2 separate regions of the Homo sapiens genome follow, and region 2 is linked to region 1. The links are contacts of gene promoters, found by promoter capture Hi-C in blood cells and fetal thymus (Javierre and others, 2016). All regions are on one chromosome and are shown on one strand. The core of a region is centred on a gene start or on the middle of the fragment in contact, and the rest is flanking DNA. Distances in the headings are between cores, read along the strand shown.

Region 1 (5,163 bases), core at 1,253-3,752:
CAGGACTTTGGGAGGGCAAGACGGGTGGATCATGAGGTCAAGAGATTGAGACAATCCTGGCCAACATAGTGAAACCCCGTCTCTACTAAAAATACAAAAATTAGCCAGGCGTGGTGGTGGGTGCTTGTAGTCCCAGCTACTTGGGAGGCTGAGGCAGGAGAATCACTTGAACCCAGGAGGCAGAGGTTGCAGTGAACTGAGATTGCACCACTGCGCTCCAGCCTGGCAATGGAGCAAGACTCCATCTCAAAAAAAAAAAAAAAAAAAAAAGAATAGCCAAGGGAGGGAGACTGAGCTGTTAACAGAGAAAGAGAAGATTCTGGGCAGAGAAGATAATAGCCTTCTTGATGCCTATGTATTGATAAATGATGCTTTGAAGAGTATAGACCTATATTCACTCCCAGCTATGTATGAGCTGCTGTTTTCTAACAGTCTTGCCAGCCCTGGGAATTACCATCAGAAAGAAACTCGTTGATGGACTGCACTAATGGGATTTTCTTGTTTGTCTGGATTCCTGCCAGTTAGATAGCCCCGCACTATTTTCCGTCAACTCCTTCCGGGGAAGAGCTCCTTCAGCACGCCTGTGCTATCACTTTCTTCCTCCCAACACTCACCAGATGTGGGGGTGGGGTCCATTCTGAGGGTGACCAAGAGTCGTCATGTTTGACCGGTGTGACATCATGGGCTGCCACTTACTGGCACAGGACTGATGATGATACAGGAACACACATAAAGGGACACAGCAGCAATCACAAAACCACACACCCCACTGGGTGGCCTAACCTAGATTTCTGCCCTGAAGAGGGGCTGTGGCAGGATGAGCAACCGCAACCCGTGGGCAGCAGTCCCCATTCTCTGATTCCTCTTGATTTCTTACGGAAATGGAGAGTTTGGGCTTGTGGGACCTTTGAACATGGATATCAAGGTCATTCAAACTTACCAGAAAACATGTTTTCTTAAAGGTTCTGTCTTTTTATAGTGGTGAGTGGGAGCAGGAATACATTTGCTCCCCTCCTGGTTTAAGGAAAATCAAACAGAAATGTGAATGGAAGTTGAATTCTCCAGGAGTGAATAAGAGGGGACAGTACGATATTTTGACTTTGGAGGCAGGCTATGACTAGAACTCCTTCCATCCTGTGGCCCTCAAAGATGTGTTCTGCAAAGACCCTTGAGGGCAAGGGGATAGGTAGAAAGTTGGATGACAATGTTCACTCATGTTCTCCAACCCTTGCCAGAAGTGTGCTAGCTTGCTCCCCTTCCCTCTCCTCCCCTCCTCTCCTTTTCTTTTTCTTTATTCCTTTCTCTCTCCTTCCTTCCTTTCCTTTACCTTCTTTCTCTCCCTCCCTCCCTCTCTCCCTTCTTAACTTCCTTCCTTCCTTCCCTCCCTCTCTCACTCCTTCCCTCCCTCTCTACCTCCCTCCCTCTTCTTTCCTTCTTTTTTTTTCTTTTGTTTTTGAGACAGGGTCTCACTCTGTCACCCAGGCTGGAGTGCAGTGGTGCCATCGCAGCTCACTGCAGCCTCAATCAAACTCCTGGGCTCAAGCGATCCTCCCACCTCAGCGTCCCCATCCCTGTGCCCAGCTAATTTTTGGTATTTTTTGTAGAGATGGAGTTTTGCTCAGGCTGGTCTTGAACTCCTGAGCTCAAGAGATCCGCCAGCGTTGGCCTCCCAAAGTGCTGGGATTTATAGACAAGAACCCTCATGCCTGGCCTGGCTGGCTTCTTTCTAACAGAGAGAAGACATTATTTAGTCTTAGCCTTATATGTCTTGTCCAGTTTTATCAGGCATTTTAGCCATAATATCCCAAATATGAAAGTGACCCTTTTTTAACACTCCTTTTACCTATACCTGGCATTGTTATCTAATCTTTACCTACATGACCTCTGCCCTTCCAGATGGAAAAGATCCCTCCTGTTAAGGACAGCTGGTATTTGGCCACATCATGTTTGTTTTCTGTTCTGCCAGGTGACTTCCGGGTGACAGCTCTGCGACTGCGCTTCAAGATCACCCTGCTTCTACTCCCAGAGGCATACCCCTAGTTCGCAGGGAAGTTCCATTTCATCACAGACCTGGGAAGCAGAGAGAAGCTTGTTGCCATCCTTCCCCCACACCTTACTACTGCTTTGAACCAGTGTGCTGCATTGAAAGAGATAAGTAGAAATAGTTGAACCAAAAATTACATGATCCCATAGTTTGTGCTTAAAATAAACAAAGAAGCTGATCTTTCAGTGAACATGTTTTTATTGAACACCAACTTAATTTCAGGAACATTTCAGGTACATTGTCAGAAATAAAGACTCTTAAGAATGTATTATTATGTACCCAATACTGGTTTCAGGCCTTTACATGTATTCTCATGAAACTCTATGAAGTAGATATTATTATCAATATTCCTACTTTACAGATGAGGAAACCCAGGCCTGGAGAGGTCAAGCAACTTGCTCAAGTGGCACAGCTGGAGAGTGGGGAGCTGGGACTTGAGCCCAGGTAGTGTGTCCCCAGCACCTTCAACTAAACTCCATTCTGTGCTGCCCTTTGGAACACCCACTCAATGGCCTTCACACTCCATGTCCTACTTGGGAGGACATGTGATCTCAACAGCACTCACAAATGAAGGCTTTCCAGACAGGATATTGAAGATGGTAAGATCAGTCTCATGTATAAAGCATTTTTTAAAAGTAAAGCATATTATATGCTAGTCATATGTACTAGGGTGAATGCATGTATGCTACATGCTAGTAGAATTAATAGTTGGAATATAAAAATACCCTATAGGCTGGGCACGGTGGCTCACATTTGTAATCCCAGCACTTTGGGAGGCCAAGGCGGGCGGATCACTTGAGGTCAGGAGTTCAAGACCAGCCTGGCCAACATGGTGAAACCCTGTCTCTACTAAAAATATAAAACTTAGTCGGGTGGTAGTGGTGCGTGCCTGTAATCTCAGCTGCTTGGGAGGCTGAGGCAGGAGAATCGCTTGAGCCTGGGAGGCGGAGGTTGCAGTGAGCTGAAATCGTGCCACTGCACTCCTATCTGGGCAACAGAGTGAGACCCTGTCTCAAAAAATAAACAAAAACAAAAACAAAACAACAACAACAAAAAACAAAACCCTACAGTGAGCAATGAGCCTTTATGTATTTTTTGAGTTCTTCTCCTATTTTTTTTTTAATTTGGCTCTTTCCTTCTACATACAAGTGCCTGTGGACACAGCATTGTCCTTGTGCTGTTGCCATTTACAGCAGTAAAACAACAGCTACTATTTCTTAAGGGCTTATATTTGGCTCTTTATTAACACTGTCTGTTTTAAGCCTTACGGTAACTGAGGTTGGTATCATTGTCCCCATTTTACAGATGAGTAAACTAAGGCTTGTGCAATGTTAATTGAGCTGCGGAGAGGATATATCACAGCTAATAAATTAGAGGGGCAGCATTCAACCCCAGGTCTTCCTGAATGCAAAGATTTGTGCTAGTAAGCTCTGTGTTCTCCTCTGAGGTCACTGTGGTGGGCTCTAGGCACTTATGCTACCCCATTTGTGTCAGAATACAGCATGTGAACACACATGTCTATAGAATTTTAAACCCAAATATTTACTTATTACTGTCTAAGTTCCAGACACACACCATAAAAGATACAAATCTTAAAAGATAAACTGGAAGGACAGGTCAGAATTCTCCCTTAGTAAAAGGTAGCGATTATGAGAACTTAGCTCATTACAGCCTCCATCTCCTGGACTTAAGTGATCTTCCTGCCTCAGCCTCCCAAGTAGCTAGGACTATAGGTGTGCACTACCGCATTCAGCTAATTAAAACAAAAAAAATTTTTTTTTGGTAGAAACAGCATCTTGCTATGTTGACCAGGCTGATCTGGAACTCCTGGCCTCAAGCAATCCCCTGTCTTAGCCACCCCAAATGCTGAGATTTTAGGCATAAGCCACTGTGCCTGGTGTGACAGGTACTATTATCCCTATTCTACAGATCAGGGAACTGAGAAATGATTGCTTAGTGAATAGATATCTTGGGCTGAATAGATCAATAGAGACTTGATGATACATAATGTGCTAGGCATATTTGGTGGGATAGGTAAGAATTATGCCTTGGAACTAGCCATGCTATAACTTGCAATTCAATTGGATCACACCATATATACATGTCTAATTTCTTTCCTTAGACTGTTAGCCCCTAGTGAGCAGGAGCCCTGTCTTCTATGTCTCATGCTCTTCCCCTGGCTGGCTTAGGGTTGGCACAAACTCCATCCTCAAACTCTTTCTTGACTGTGTGTCTGTCAAAAGCATGTAAGTGGCTGCAGCTGTGAGTGCAAAGGCACAGAACAGTGTGTGTTGAGCATTAAAATCTTGCTCACTTTTGACTCCAGGACTCCTCTTCTCTTCCTTCCTGGGAGCATAAGAATATGGTGAAAAAACCAGAATTGTTTTCTCAAGGAAAGTTTTAGTAGGTAATTTCAGTTGCAGTTGAATCTCTTCTGTTTCTCCAAGGACTGGGCATTGCCAGCCCTGCTGTAGCTGGTTGAAGGGGACCAAACCTCTCAGGAAGACGGACTTGGTTCCGTTTGACCAGCCAGAGCAGGGGGCATCTTTCTTCTGAGGTGACTGCAGCCTCTAGTGTGCAGGTATCTTGGTGTGTCTCAAGCATCATTTGTCTAAGCCTGTAATGCAAAAAGAAGCAGCATTAGCATCTGTCAAATGCCAGGAGCTTGCCTTGTCCAGAATGTCCTCTTACATGATTTGTACATACATCTCATACAATTTGTACATACAAATCATACATAATTTGTATTTCATGTTGCATGACTTCAATTTATTTTTTCTTTAATCTTTAATCTTTTTTCAAATAGAAACATCATGAAGATCAAATATGCTATAGAATTATAGAATATGAAAAATGACAGTATGCCATAATGCTTCCTCTTCCCATTTTCCGAAAGAAATGTAACATTTTGGCATATATTCTTTGAATGCTTAACATTTTAATTTCTTTAAATTATGTTTTTAATTCAAGTATGATATATTTATAAAAGAATATTTATAATATATAAGTGATGGTACATAATGGTAAAACCAATACCCATGAACAACGATCTACTTTTTTTTGTTGTTACTTTTTTGAGATGGAGTCTCACTCTGTCACCCAGGCTGGAGTGCAGTGGC
Region 2 (5,163 bases), core at 1,989-4,488, 490 kb before region 1:
ATCCCTGAACCAATCACTGACCACAGGAGAAACTGACACTCTGGATCATATGCCAGTCCTGGGTCGGACACCATCCCTGGAATGCGAGGTGGTAGGGAGGGACTGTCAACTCCACAAAAACCACAGGGATGGAAAGTGGGGAAGGGTGGATCCCCCACAAACATTGGAGGCCGTTCCTGGAAACAGGGTAAGTGAAGAGGGGCTGGCCAAGAAACCACACACATCTACCATGCAGATCTCAGTTCCAACATTCTGCAGTTCTGTGAGGCCCTCCTACGGCCCAGAATACCAGCATAGAAAACCACATTCACCAGACTGCCCTCCAGATGGAGCAGGAATGGGCTTGGGGAGGAAGGAATCCCATTTCCATTTAGGATGACTACAATCATACACTTCAAGAGTCCTGACTGGAAAGGCTGTCTCTCCTGGCAAACCAGTCCCATTTCTCATTTCTCTAGGAGAAATGCACACAAAACTTTCCATACTCCTGCCTGGCATTAGCTCTCTGCTGACCTCCATCTCCCTTTCACCCTGTCTGCCTCTGCTCGGAATGTGTCTCTCTTGGACTACCGCTGTCTCCTATCTGACTTCCTCTGCTACCTCTCTCTATTCCTCTCTCCCTCCAATACTGACCGGTTGAAGCTGTCATTACTGTCTGCCTAGCTTTCTCAAGAGTTTCTACCTCTGTTTCTTTCTATTCTCTCTCTTTTTGGGGTTCTCCCTGTCTCTGCCTTATTTTTTCTCTGTCTTATCCTGTCTGTGCTTCTCTACCTCAGTCTCCAAGAACCTGCCTGTCACTTTCTTTACTTGGCACTTTCATTCTTTGTGTCTGCCTCCCTTTCTGCATCTGCTTTTGTCTCTATCTTTTTCTGAAATAGACAGTTCTCACTGCTCCAGATAGGGTCTAAAAATGTCTACAAGTCCTGCTTATTCCATATGTTTATCAGCAGATGGACCAACACTGTTTGAGGATGGAGGCAAGACCTTGAAGGAGGAGAATTTAGAGAGAAGAAGGAAGCATTGACAGGGCACCTGAATCATGGTGCTGTGAATAAGGGGTTATTCAGACCAAACCTACACAGCACACACACACATTAATGTCACAAACCACCTTCAGATAGGCGCTAATCTTCTCCATCACAGTCACAGTTGGGTATGGTTGAAGTTTTGTTTTTTCTCAGTTGAACGCTTTTTAACTGATTAGCTGCTCCCTGGATTTCAAAGCAGCTTGGATATCTGTAACTGACACACAATCTCAGTGCCGCAGCCTAGCAGTTTACAACAGGTCCTTTGGATGAACTGACTTTGCCATTGTGTGCCTTGTGAGTTTCACTGTGTGGACAGCTCAGCCCCTGTTTTCTCTGTGGCAGTTATCCAGGTCCTGCTTCTCAGTGACTAAACACATCTCTGGTGCCCAATGCAGTGAGGGCTGACATTAGGCCCTTCTTAACATTAGTCTACAATTTCCAATTCAATAGAAGATATTGCTGGGTTTTGGAAAATAGAATGTGGCAGAAGTAGACATATATCCAACAGGCTTTGCACTCAGGTTTTATTTTTACACAGAGTTTAAAACTTATATCACATACCATCCCAAGGACTGTCCTAATCTTCAACAAAGTTAGTTTTCATTTCATTATTTCTTCATTTTAAAGGTTGATACATTGGCTTTTGCAGTCACCAGCATATTTTTTAACTACTATGATGTAAATGGCAAAGAATGTGGGGAGGCCATAGGACTGTTAGGTTTTGTTGTTGTTGTTTGCTTTCCATCTTCAACAGTTTTCTGCTCTGTGATGGTAAACAAATCAACTTCTATGAGTGCCAATTTCCACATTAATAAAAGATAACAGAAACAGGTGCCTAGCGTCAGTGCCTAGTACTTAGTACAGGCTGATTAAATGTGTTCATTCATTAAAGACAATGGTTGTCAGCTTTGGCTATCCATTAGCATCTCCTGGGAAGCTTTTAAAAACCCTGAAGACAGGCTGTAGATTAGACCAATTACATAAGGATTTCTGAGTCTGAGACCCGGGCAGCAGTATTTTTTTTTAATTCTCCCACACATCCCACTTGAGGTTATTCCACTGTGCAGCCAAGCCTGATAACCACTGATTTAAGAGGTTTACATTAGCTATGTGCTTATTTTGTACTTAATCAAGGGTCAAAGGCACTTGTTTTAAAAGTATCACTCAAAGACCCAGAATTAAACTTGGACTACACTCCCTAAGAATTAATTTCTCCAATTTCCAAAGAGTGCCTATTCCTATAAGCTCATCTAAAATGAAAAATGGCCCATAAAATATTCCTTATTTGGTCAAAGAGAAGCATATGTTAAACATTCAATTCAACAATTTCTATTGAGTACTGTCCAGTTACAGAGAACTGCACTAAACCAAAAGTCTCCATTGTCAAAAAATAATGCTTAAGTTCAAAAGGCACAACACAAGTAAAAAGCAATGCTTCATAAAAACAAAATAAAACAAAACAAAATGAACACTTCCTTCCCTTGGAAATTGACGCCTTTAAGCACACACCCTGCCAGCTTAATTTTCTGCTGATTATCAGCTCTCCTACTGCCTATAATGAGGGGCTTAAGAAGAGGAAGAGCAGCTGGGAACAGGAAGTTTGCAATGATGTGGGAGGTTTACTGGAAAATTATCTGCTAAGGAAATCATTTCAGTGGTCAACATTGCTAACAAAAATACATCGCGCTGACAAAAATATTGAACAAGCTTTGTGCTCAGTGAGACAGTGTTTTGTTTTCTCCACATTGAAGGATTTAATTTCAAATGCACCAAGGTGCTCTTGTGAATAGTAAAATAAAAACATATTTAAAAGCTTTGCTGAATTCATAATCAGATATGGCTATGTAATTTCCCAATCTATTATATAGGATTGAATACATTTTTCCAGCTTTATTGATGTACAATTGACAAATCAAATTGTATATATTTAGGTGTACAATGAGATGTTTTGATATACATACATGTTGTGAAATGATTACCACAATCAAGCTAATTAGCATAAACATCACCTCACATGGTTACCATTTTCCTTTTTGTGGTGAGACCATTTGAAACCTACTCTCAGCAAATGTCACAATATAATACCACATGATTACCTATGGTCACCATGCTGTACATTAGCTCTCCAGAACTCATTCATTCTGCATATTGAAATTTTGTACCCTTTGACCAGCATCTCCATGTCCCCAACCCCTCAGCTCCTGGCAACCACCATTCTACTCCTTACTTCTGGGACACAGTGTTTTTAATGTAAAACAAAAATACGTGACATTTTGTGTGTACATTCATGAATTTCTTTCCCATTTTGGGGATACCCTTGACATAGTCTAGAGATGATTTGTGTGTCTGCTTTTCTTTGCTCTCTGCTCTTTATTGGTTGCTCCTAGGCTGGAAAAGAGATGTAACCTCAGGAAGCAGGTGTGTGAAAGACGATCCAACTCGGGAGAATCCATGGACAGCTGGCCCTGAATCTTAGCCCTGCAAGTGATTGCTGTGATGTTCAGGTCCAACGTCTCAGGTCTCGTTCATACATCTCCACCTCTCACCGTCACTCACTGGATCCCAATATCACAGGCTGTGCAGAGGGAAGATTACTCCAAAGCTTGTTTTCTTCACATCTAGCCAACTAGTCTGTTCTCAAAAGAACTGAAAGGGATGTCCAGCCTTGATGGTCAGTCTGCTAGGAAAAGACACAGAGCCAGGAAGCCAGGGTTCAAGATTTGGTTTTATTCCTTACTGACTATATGATACCAGACAAGCATTGAGCCTCTTTGAGCCTTAGTTTCCTCAGTATAAAATGAGGGATACTAGTATTACCTACCTCTCAAAATTGTTGTAAAGATTTAGTGAAATGTAAGCTGTACAAATGACCAATGCCTTTTTAAAAATACTCTGAACCTGTTTTTTTTTTTTTTTAAGTTTGGAAATCTTAAACACTTAATAGAAAAAATTTGTAAGTGATGACTGAAATGAACCAAACTTTTTCTACAAACTTTAGCCTACAAAGCTCCCAGCACACACCTTAGCACAACCCTGCACCTTCTAAATAGGCAACACTGAACACTCCAGGGAGAAAGTCAGATTTCAAAGCGCTTTACCTTGTTCTTTCCTCTTTTCCCGCCTTGGCCTCCCAGGTAATTTATTACAGAGATCTGGCAAGGCTTCACAGTGAATGAAGCCTGGTGGTGCTACAGCGGGTGACAAAGGCAAACCGGATCCTGTATTTAAACAAAACTGAAGGAAGTGCAGAGAGCCCGCGTTTGGCTCTCCGCGAGGTCTCCATATGCTGGCCCTCCCGTGCACACACTGGGGAGCATTGTTCACAGTTTGAGAGTCATCGCTGCAGCCTGCACTGACGTGAGTCTCCACCATCAGCTAAGAGGAACACTGGTCTCCCACACAGCAGCCAAATCCAAGATCAGTGCTTCCCAGGGAGCACTAGAAACCAAACATAACAACAAGAAATGACTTTCCAAACACCCTTTCACAGAGAAAAATAGAGAGTACAAACAATATTTTCATCATTAGTAGTTATAAAATATTCATGATGTTCTAGGGAGATAAAAGGTAAGGATATCTCACCCCTCACCCATCCCCACCTACCTTGACCCATCCTTCCCAACCTCACCTGTAAAAGAGTTCAAATTGGACTTGTATAAATTCCCCCAAAGAGTGTACCTACTTCTGAAATACAGAGGAAGGAATGTTCTTCATTCTTACCTTCTGTTAAGGAGTTAAGAGAAGGTAGTACTATTTACTAAGTTCCTGGCATATACCAAGACATTTTCTTTTTTTCTGTTTTTTGTTTGTTTGTTTTTGTTTTTTGTTTTTTGAGACAGGTCTCCCTCTGTCACCCAGCCTGGAGTGCTGTGATGCAATCATAGCTCATTGCAGCCTACAACTCCTAGGCTCAAGTGATCCTCCTGCCTCAGCCTCCCACGCAGCTGGGACTACAGGTGGATCACCACGCCCAGCTAATTTTTTTTTTTTCTTGGTAGAGACAGTTGCCCAGGCTGCTCTTGAACTCCTGGCCTCAAAGGATCCTCCAGACTTGGCATCCCAAAGTGCTGGGATTACAGACATGAGACATTTTCACAGACAGTATTTAATCCTTTTTATGACACTTTGAGATAGG

Evidence for each region. The method cuts DNA at HindIII sites, captures the fragments that hold promoters and counts their contacts. A CHiCAGO score of 5 or more calls a contact.
Region 2: a fragment that was not itself captured here is called in contact with the fragment with the promoter of LINCMD1 in region 1 in 2 of 17 cell types (naive CD4 T cells and non-activated CD4 T cells); the score reaches 5.2 in naive CD4 T cells.

Annotation. Positions count from the first base shown.
Region 1 is chr6:52,148,362-52,153,524 of GRCh38, reverse strand. LINCMD1 (long intergenic non-protein coding RNA, muscle differentiation 1) reads left to right here and starts at 2,502. Exons shown (of 3, transcript NR_131248.1): 1 at 2,502-2,643. It overlaps MIR133B (microRNA 133b), which reads right to left and starts at 4,602; the gene lies at 4,484-4,602. RefSeq lists an enhancer at 380-674. The HindIII fragment of the contact is 4,773 bases long and covers 2,091-5,163 here.
Region 2 is chr6:52,639,454-52,644,616 of GRCh38, reverse strand. No RefSeq gene overlaps it. Among named protein-coding and RNA genes, the nearest start is that of TMEM14A, 29 kb to the left of the region's middle. The HindIII fragment of the contact is 789 bases long and covers 2,844-3,632 here.